2 separate regions of the Homo sapiens genome follow, and region 2 is linked to region 1. Evidence: promoter capture Hi-C in 16 types of primary human blood cells and fetal thymus (Javierre and others, 2016). All regions are on one chromosome and are shown on one strand. Each heading gives the region's core, a stretch centred on a gene start or on the middle of the fragment in contact. The rest is flanking DNA. Distances are from core to core; before and after follow the strand shown.

The links. The method cuts DNA at HindIII sites, captures the fragments that hold promoters and counts their contacts. A CHiCAGO score of 5 or more calls a contact.
Region 2: a fragment that was not itself captured here is called in contact with the fragment with the promoter of TMEM14A in region 1 in 1 of 17 cell types (erythroblasts); the score reaches 8.2 in erythroblasts.

What each region holds. Positions count from the first base shown.
Region 1 is chr6:52,669,072-52,674,018 of GRCh38, forward strand. It overlaps TMEM14A (transmembrane protein 14A), which reads left to right and starts at 2,042. Exons shown (of 5, transcript NM_014051.4): 1 at 2,042-2,174. LOC730101 (a long non-coding RNA gene) reads left to right here. Exons shown (of 3, transcript NR_024405.1): 3 at 1-82. RefSeq lists enhancers at 1,258-1,758, 1,747-1,906. The HindIII fragment of the contact is 3,190 bases long and covers 180-3,369 here.
Region 2 is chr6:53,481,308-53,486,254 of GRCh38, forward strand. All of the region lies in intron 3 of GCLC-AS1 (GCLC antisense RNA 1), which reads left to right. Among named protein-coding and RNA genes, the nearest start is that of GCLC-AS1, 52 kb to the left of the region's middle. The HindIII fragment of the contact is 811 bases long and covers 3,164-3,974 here.

The DNA.
Region 1 (4,947 bases), core at 792-3,291:
CACATCTATTATGTGACAGATTTAAATGTTTAAGAATTTGATTTCAATGAAATTGCATTTCAATAAAATTGGCTTCCTTTGCAATCCTGTGTATTTTATTTTGTGCATTTCTCCAGACTGCCAAAGAGGTTGGTGACACATTGAAAGTTAAGAGTCTCTGCTGTGGATCATGCATAGAAAGCTTTACAAAACAGTTGAGGGGAATAGGCTTTCCTGCATCCTTACCTTGGGCTGCAGCCTTTCCATTAGCTGGAGAAGGCAGCAGCTGGTGCCTATGAGTTGAGAGGGCAGTGGTCCCTTTGCCTAAGAACCATCCTGTTCCCACATATTCAAGGGTATGGAATTCCCATAATATTCAAAGAGTTTTTCTTTAGTTTTAGGTGATACGCCTTGAGTAGGAATATCATGAGGCTGTTTCCAGCTTCGAGTATGTTGGTGATAGGGTGTAAGGGATCTCAGAGCATCTAGTCTTGTCCATATCTTAAATCCAGGCACTGAGGTCCAGAGGGGAGTTATTTACCCAGGTCACATCAGATGAAGATAATGAAGTATTCCAAGAGGATTTTAGTTTTATTCCAAATAGGGTAAGTGTTCTGAGAGTGTGAGGAGAGAAGGTGAGGAGGCTGGGGTAAGGATGGGCATAGAAGGGGATGGAAAGGAGGGCTGAGAGAACTCAGAACCAAATTTCAGGCTATCACTTTCTCCACGCCACATTCCAGTGCCTTGCCATCAACTCTTCTGTGAATCTTCAGGAATTTTATTAATTCCCCAGGACCAACTTAGACTTTCATAAGTTAGATGTAGTTATATTACTTCCCTGAAGCACTTTTATGCACAAAGAATAGATGTAGCAAACAAACTTCACAAGATTTAATTTTTGAGTTTCCTTTTTTATTCTGAGGAATTCCGCTGTAATTCTCAGTGACACAGAACCTCTAGAGCTACTTCACTATGACAACCTTCTTCAAATCTCCAAAGGGCTGTTACATAAGGAAGAGGGTCGGAGTTCTGTATTCAATCAAGAAGGCAGAAGATTGAGATGATAAGTTGCTACAGGGAGGCATAATTTAAAGTCAATTTAAACTGTAATCCCAGCACTTTGGGAGGCAGAGGCGGGAGGATTGCTTTGAGCTCAGGAATTCAAGACCATCCTGGGCAACACAGTGAAACCCCGTCTCTACAAAAAAAAAATAGTCGGGTGAGGTGGCACACACCTGTAATCCCAGCTACTTGGGAGGTTGAGGCTGGAGAATCGCTTGAACCCAGGAGGCAGGAGGCAGAGGTTGCAGTGAGACGGGATGGTGCCACTGCACTCCAGCCTGGGCGACCGACTGAGATCCTGTATTTAAAAAAAAAATAAGGTCAGTTTAAGTTTCGTTCCTGGGATTGAGCGGATTGCCTTGCATTAGGCAAGGTTTTAAGTGCTTTCCAACTCTGGAATTCTATACCTTTCCCAGTAGATATCTAAACCCAGCAAATCCTGGGCCTGAAGTTTAAAACTAGGATCCTCGTCTCCCAACCACATCTAGATGATCCCATAGTGTAATGAAGGGTGCTTGGGCTTTGACACCAGGCAAACTTGGATTTTGACCTGGGACAACTAAGTCACTTGACCTCACTGAACCTTAGCTCCCTCCACTGACAGTGGGGACAGTCTGCTGGAGGGTGTGTAGAAGACCTCGGGTTGCCTTTTGGAGGTTCTGGAAATGTCCCTTGAAAGATGAATGGAGTTAATTTAAAAATCTTCGCCTTCTGTAATTTTGGCTTCTTGCAAACACGCTTCCTGCCAGTCCTGCTCCGTCAGGCGGGAGGCAGCAAACCCCAGCCCTGGCTCCAGGACAGGGCCGAAGGCAGGATAGACGGAGCAACGGGTCCGGCTGCCGCCGGGATGTTGCAGCACAGGGCCTCCTGGCTGCCTGGCCTACAGGCCGCCCGGATTCAGCCGGAGGGCATGGACCGGGTGGAGTCCTGCAAGGCGAGAAGGGACACAGCGCATGCGCGCGGCAGGGAGGGCGTTTCCAGGAGGGAGCGGCCTTTGCTCAGCGCGAGACGGCTGGGCGCCGAGTGGGACAGCGCTGGTGCGGAGACTGCTTCCGGACTCCAGGTACCGCGCTTGGCGGCAGCTGGCCCCAGACTTCTGTCTTTTCAGCTGCAGTGAAGGCTCGGGGCTGCAGGTGAGCTGTGCATCCCGCAATGGAGACCTTCCTGCTCTGAATTTTCTTACAAAACTGCAGAAATATAAGGGGCGTTGCTTAGCGGGCATCCCCTCCCCCGCGCCAAACCTGTACAGCAAACGATGATGCAGAGGACCTTGAGGGGATTTTGCAGGGCATCGGTCTTACCTCCGCGGTATCATTTTTCTCCTCCTCCCGAGTTTCTGCCTTCTGGTATCCCTAAATATCCCACCTATCCTGCCTCCTACCTTCCTGGATCTGGGGTGGTGGGGTGGGCTCATGGACCATTGCAAAATGCTTGGCAGGATTTTAACCTTCTCAGCACCACCCAGACCCCACTCGAAAATGTGCCTTTTGTGCCCTCCAAGAGCTCAAGGGTAGGTAATTGTTATATCTTTAGCATGTGAAAATGCTTTTTATGTAACAGTTCACCGAAAATCTCTTAATTCTCCGAATTTTGGAGGATTTGGGGCGGGCAGCGAGGCTGTCCCCTGTCACCTTGTTTTGTACCTGGTATGGTAAATCGTTTTGCTGCATTGCATCCAAGATGCGTTTTAGTCCTTCCAAGGCTTGAGCATCACATTTGTGATGAGAGCGTGTGATGTGCTGTGCACATCCTCTCCCACCTTATCCCTTCCATGTTAACACAGCCTCTGGCTTTAATGTGTGCTTCTGGCCTGGCCACATGGCTCCGTCATGGAATAGGTGATTCTTTTGTCTGAATATTCTCTGTGAGAACAGAATCTTCTTGCAAGCATTGGGAGTAGATTTATTTTGCCTCTTTAGAACAACAGTCAGTTCGCTAAGGAGATTAAGGGGCTACCTGTTTCCTGGCAATAAAGCTGTATTGGGTAGGTCAGTTACAGAATGTCTTCAGGCAGAAGCTGTTCCTTTGGTTCACTCACTCATTTATTCATTTAACAAGTATTTTAAGTACCTGCCTTGTGCATGGCAGGGTTCTTGGTGCTGTGAGGAGGACAAAGATAAACTGAACCTTGGTTTGCCCTCAAGGAGCTTGGCTGGCTGAGAGTTGAGAGAATCCCAACCAAGTAAAAGGGTATGGGTCCTCAAGAGAAGATCGCAGGAAGAGCTGGGGGGCTCAGGATGGAGTGGAATTAATCTTTCACAACAGCTACTTAGCTTTAGGAGAAAATTAGGTCTAGAAGTTACACCTGATAATGAAAGAACTCTCATAAGCTTCAGATCTGTATGTAAGGGTGTTTTCCGGACTGTGTGTTGGGCGTCTCAGACTGAATACATTCTAAACAGGTCCCATCATTCCTAGCCACCTCCCTCTTCCCACCGCCACACACCTGCTGCTGTTCCCATGTTCTCTGTCTCAGGGAATAGCATGAGGCTCCCCGACTCCCTACTTCTCCTAATGGTCTAAGCCAGATACCTAGGGGTGAGTCATCTCTGATTCACCCCTGACTTTCCCTTCCCGCCTCAAATTCAATTCTGATTCTACCTCCTGAACTTCTGAAATCTGTCCACCTTCTCTCCATTCTCATTGCCATTTCTCTAGATAAGCCTACCGTTATCAACTAAGCTCTTGCTTACTTTACTGCAACAGCTTCCCGATTTATCTCCCTGCCTCACTTCACAACCCATCTTCACTACTGCAACTGGGAAGTGCTTGCTGGAATTTAAATCTGATTGTGAGGCTCCCTTCAGTGATCCTTCATTGCCCTTAGGACGGAACCAGACTCCCTTTACGGGGCTTATGTGGGTGTACAGCCCTGTCTTTCTCACCAGCACCCTCTCTTTTCACAAGCCCCTTGCACTTTTCATTTTGAGAACATGCTTTCTTGTGCCATTAGGGCCTTGCACATGCGCTCCCTTCTGCCAGGAACACCCTTCCCTGCACCCTCTTCACTTGACTTATTCATGCTCCCCTGTAGGGTAAATGCACCTGACAGCAATAATTAAAGCATACCCTTAGAATGACCCTGTGTGGCAGATGAACCTGAATGTGTTTTCTGAACTAGGGAACCCAGGCCTGCCCAACCCAGAGATTTATTTCTTGTCTATGAAGAACATCTGAGCCCCTGCCCCACCTGTCCCATAGAACAGGGGCCATACGGGGAATTGAGGCCTTGAATTTTGAGTTAAATCAAGTTGCCAGGTAGAGGTCATTGAGGGGAGGGTGTTAAGTGAAAATGCTGCATAAATTGCATGATGTTTGCAAGCGGTTGTTTTCCTGCCCAGCTCACCACCACTGGACTCCCTCCTCTGTTTGTAAGCCCCTAATGGGTCTCTTTTGGCCTCTTGAACCTGTTGCCTTCCTTATTGAGGTTAATAGGGGTTTGGCACAACATCTCTCCAAGGTCCCAGCTGGGACCCTGTTTGATCTGGGCATCCTTAGGCTCCCAGTCCTTGCTGGGTGCCACTCCTTGTTATGGTACCCACACCTCTCCTCTTAGGGCTCATTCACACATCTGCCTCCTACAGCTGTGTTGTACTATAGTTCCTGGAGGACCAAGGCCATGTCTTAGCACTTACCATTGCTTCCTGCTGCCTTGCCTAAAGAAAATGCTAAATAAATAGCTGTTAAGTCGAATTGACTACAAATATATGTTATAATACTATGGTATGATTCATTAACTAAATTACAAATTCACCCTACCTCAGTTTTCTCAGTGTGCTGAAATAGTAATAGCCTTACACATGTCAAGCTTAAAATAGGTGTAAGGGTGAATGAGAAGAGTAATCATTGGAGCAGCTAATATTTGTTGAGTGCTCAGTATGTGCAGGCACTGTTCTAAGTGCTTTA
Region 2 (4,947 bases), core at 2,319-4,818, 810 kb after region 1:
ATGTCCTGAATGGTATTGCCTAGGTTTTCTTCCAGGGTTTTTATGGTTTTAGGTCTTACATTTAAGTCTTTAATCTATCTTGAATTAATTTTTGTATAAAGTGTAAGGAAGGGGTCCAGTTTCAGTTTTAAGAAGCAGGGAGTCTTTGCAAGCTCAAGGTAGGATCTTTGTCAAACAGGAAATATGGTATTATGCAGCAGTGAAACGAGGTCAGTTCTGAGTCCTCAGTCTAGGTTACAGGAACAAAGTTAAGAGTTTGTTCTTATGAGGAATAGAACTGAGTATGTCTCTAGGTCAAGAAAAACACTGTGGCAAAAATGAGAACATTGAGCAACTAATTCAAAATTTCATATGGAACAGTTTCAATAACCATCGGGTAAATGACTTCTTATGGTGAGTGTGCTCAGAAGTGCTCACTAATACTGGTTGATTGAGAGTGATATTTACAATACCAAACAGTCATGTCATTAATAGTATAACAACTTTTTCTTACCAGGGGCTTTTTTGAGCCAGTAAAGGAGAGGATCTTCCCTAGGATTTTTGTTTGTTTTTAAGACTAGCAATGTGCTAACTGCATCCCTTCTACATCCATGAAAGAGAATGCACCCTAGGCTCTCTAGACCAAACTCAGGCATGCTTTACTTGTGGCGTGCATTCAAAAGGAGGAGAACATGGTGAAAATGTCTTGAACATCATTCTAGTAACCATAGTGATACCAAAGCAAACCTGGATCCTTATCTCATATCTTGTTTATTTTTCAGAAAGAATTTATTTACACATAGACCTTTAATTTTGAAAAAGATGCCCCTCTTTGTTATTTGATTGTGTAAGTGATGTTTTGTTGGCCTTGCTTCACAGCAAGTCTCTGTAATACCTCGGTATGTTGCCAGTGGCTGTCTCTGTCCTCACAAACAAATGTTCCATACTTGTCTGACCTGGGCAGCCAGGCTATGGGGTCCAAGGAAGGATAGAACACCTGGAAAGTGACAGCAATGTTTTTGGGGTCAGAACTCTCAAAGTGGAAAAGTTATTCAAGATCCAGCTGCAGAATGAATGAGCACGTTCTCTGCTTTTAAAAAAAAGTTTTATTTTTTAAAAAGAAGTAATAAAGCTGGGCATGGTGGTGCTCTCCTGTAGTCCCAGTTGCTCAGGAGGCTGAGATGGGAGGATTGCTTAAGCCCAGGAGTTTGAGACTAGCCTAAGCAATACAGTGAGACTCCATCTCTAAAAAAACAAAACAAAACAAAAAACAAAAACAAAAAAAGAAAGAAAGAAAAGAAAAAGGAGTAATAAAGAGAGATATTGGTGCCTCACTGCTCTAAAGGGCTTTGAGGAAACAGTTCTAGGCTCTCCACAGAATTTGGAAATGCATCCTGGGGGGGTGGACTGTGAAAAACATCTGAGACATAAGCTCTATGTGACACTTGGTGGGTACTCATGAACATTCAGGGTTCTTGAGGGCCTGAACTGCTTGTTTTGGTAGCCTTGCATTTTCAGGGCAACAATCCCTGGCATCGAGTGGACCCTCAAGAAATATTTGTTAGCTGCCAGATGCAACTTTCCGCTGTATTGTCAACACTTTTTCAAAACACGTCACTGAGGATTTCAGTAACTTCCCAGCAGCTACAAGGAATCTTGGGAACCTTTTCTCTAGGCAGAGCAGGCTATTTAATACCCCATTTGTAATAGGGTGATTTAAAGATACTTTGAAAGCCAATCTAAGAAAAGACATTTCTCCGATGGTGCCTGAAGTTCGATGCATAGAGGTTTTTCTTTCTGTTACCCTCACTAAGTTCTTTGAAAATGCCTACAGAAGGGGTGTTCATATCAGGCCCTTGTGCTTCACGAGAATAAGTTGATCGGGTAAAAATTTTCTCCATAAGAGAGACCACTATTGGGAGGGGGCAGCTGCCCAGTTAGGAGGGTTAGACTTGTCCTGCACCAATATTGTCAAGCAAGTGGGCTCAAGGGTCCCTCTGGACTCTCCTACTTAACCTTCACTATTGGCTTAAATATAGGAGTGACCATCCCCTCTCCAGAAACTGGCCTCAGTCCTGTAGCTTATTTCTTGGGATCAGTGACCCACCTCCACTTTCCACCACCTCCAGAGGCTCGAGAGAACCTGTCCCTGTCTAAACAGCCATTATTAAATGTGACTGTATTTTTTTCTCTATAGGAATGATGTATTTTCTATTTAAAAAAAAAAAAAAAAAACTCCCACAATCTTTGTGTGACTTGCATTTGAGAGCGGCCAAAGGACCTACTTGCAAAGCAGTGCAGAGGCTGACATTTACTGATAATCTGCCATGCACGAGGCACCCGGCCAGAGGGACGCTTCCTGTTCAAAATGACTGTTAGGCAGATGCTATCATTTCCATGTTACTGAGAACAAAGTTGAATCTCTGAGAGAGAAAAAAAGGAACATTCACAGGGTCACAAAGGTGGGTTGAATTCCAGAGACCCTGTTCTCTCTACAGCAAGGAAAATTACCCATACCCAGGAGAGCAGGGAAATGTCATAAATTCTTTGTATGCCCTCACTGCACTTTGCACAGGGCTTGGAGTCTTTGATGGAGAATGCATGTAACATAACCCACTGAAATTAAGCTTAAACAAAAATGATACTTTGCTGGGAGGGATCCTGGTCACCCCCTAAAATCCGAGGAAAGTTGAACAACCAGGCCTCAGTACCAAGAGTTCTTGGGTTTTATATCTGTCTAATGCTACACCCGCAACTGGACTAAATAACCTGCATCTCTGTCTCTTAGTCAGAGTTCTCAAGAGAGAGACCCTAATTGGCTCCTGGTCAGCCAATGAACTTCCTCCTCCTGAGTCAGGTGTTCACTTCTAGTCCAATCAGCTATGACCAAGAGTCAAGCAAAAGCAAAACTTCCGGGGGCTAATTCTGAAGTCTGCCCAATGGTGTCTACTGTACCCAGATATAATTCAATACATGTTTATTGTCTGGTGTTTTTTGTGTTCATTCGTTGCAACCAAGTTCTTTAAGAACCTTGGATACATCGTCCTTCATTTAATCATCAGGCGGGGGTTGATAGGCCATAGTGATCAAGAAAAATATGTGAAATTTCTATATGCCAGTTATCGCTGTGTTAAAAACCTTCAGAGCAAATTAAGAAAGGAGAAATAAACTATTTGTTCTCAAAAGCTTGGTTTCAAGGGGACCGAGGAAATGGGAAAAGCATCTGTGGACAAGGCTATTGTGCTTGCTGCTGGAAGACTACCAAGGCCAGTTACTAAACGGGTGGGCAGCAACAAGTAGTTGCTTTGTTTTTTTTTCCCCCATAGGAAGTTGTTGTCTCTGTTTTGCAAGTTTGTCAAATTTCTTTTGTTTCTGGGGTCAATAACCTAGATACTTGAGACTCTTTTTTTCCCCTTCCGAGGGTCCTAATTTTGCATTTTACGTAACACCAATCTTGACCAAAAGCTGATTTATTAAGGAGGTTTCTTCTGGGTTAGTTGTTGGTGCTGGAGGCTGCGTGTACATGACTTAGTCTTCTACTGCCACCATGAGGGAGATGCTGGAATTGCAAGGCTCTTTTAGTTATCAAATGTAAATTTTCATAAATGAAAGTGAGCACGTTTAAAATTATCTCTATCTATTTATCTATCTATCTGTCTGTCTATCATGTTCATATATATATAAAATGGAACAATCCACCTCCTAAAACATATCCTCTGAAAGGCTTAAAGAGATATATAGTATTGCCAAGTGTGTCTGAGTTAGGTAGGCGAGGGTTTGAGACCTGCCTCTGCCTACCACTACAACCGCCCTTACACTAGACATTTAAGTCTTCTAAGCCACAGGTGTAAAAATGGTCTGATAGTACCCATTTCACAGGGCTTGGTATTGAAAAAATGACATAGCCTGTGTCAGTCTCTAGCATTTGGTAAGTACTCAATAAATGATTACCATTGCTATCACCTGAAATTGACCACGGCTGAAAGTATTAGAAAAGCTTTCTGCAGGGAGAAAGAGGGGTGAGGGTGGAGGGTACCAGTAACCCCGTGAAAACAAACACCAGTGCACAACTGGAGTGGATGCTCAATAAACATATGAAAGGTTCAGGGGAAAGGGGTAAAGTCACCAGGGATGGCTCTAACAGCCAAAAGAGGGATGGAAAACACTCTTTTAAGCTGACCATTTTAGAGTCAAAGAACCAAAAATATAGAATGTTCGTGTGGTAAGGATTCTAGATATGTACTCCAGCTTTTTTTTTTTTTCAAGTGGGGCAACCGAGTGATTGAATCACTCTTCAAGTTAAAATGTTAATCAGCAGTAAAGTGGGACTAGAACCCAAGACTTTTGTTTTCTTTTCTTTTCTTTTTTTTTTTTTTTTGAGACAGGATCTAACTCTATTGCCCGGGCTGGAGTGCGATGGCACATTTGTAGCTCACTGTAACCTTGAAGCCCTGGGTTCAAACAATCCTTCCGCCTCAGCCTCCTGAGTAGCTGGGACTACACTCACACACCACTGTGCCCAGCTAATTTTTATTTTTTTGGGCAGAGACAGGAATCTCACTATATTGCCCAAGCTGGTCTGAAACTTCTGGCTTCAAGTGATCCTCCCGCCTTGGTCTCCTAAGGTGCTGGGATTACAGGCATGAGCCACTGTGCCCACCCCCTCAAGACTTTTGACAAATAATCCAGAGCTCTTTATATATAAGCACCAAAATATCAGTCAAGATTAGCCAAATCAGGATTGTCTTGGATTGAAAAAAAAAATGGGCAAGTTGCTTAACCTGATTATGCTTTAGTTTCATTACTGGCAAAATGGCAATCATAATATCCTACTGCAGGGGTTCTAGTAAAGACTGAGATGCCACATGGAAAGCATTTAGATTTGTGCAATAAATGTCCACTGGTATGATTATATGAGTACAGACTTCATCTGGTACAATTACACCGTCTCCTGAATGTGATCAACAA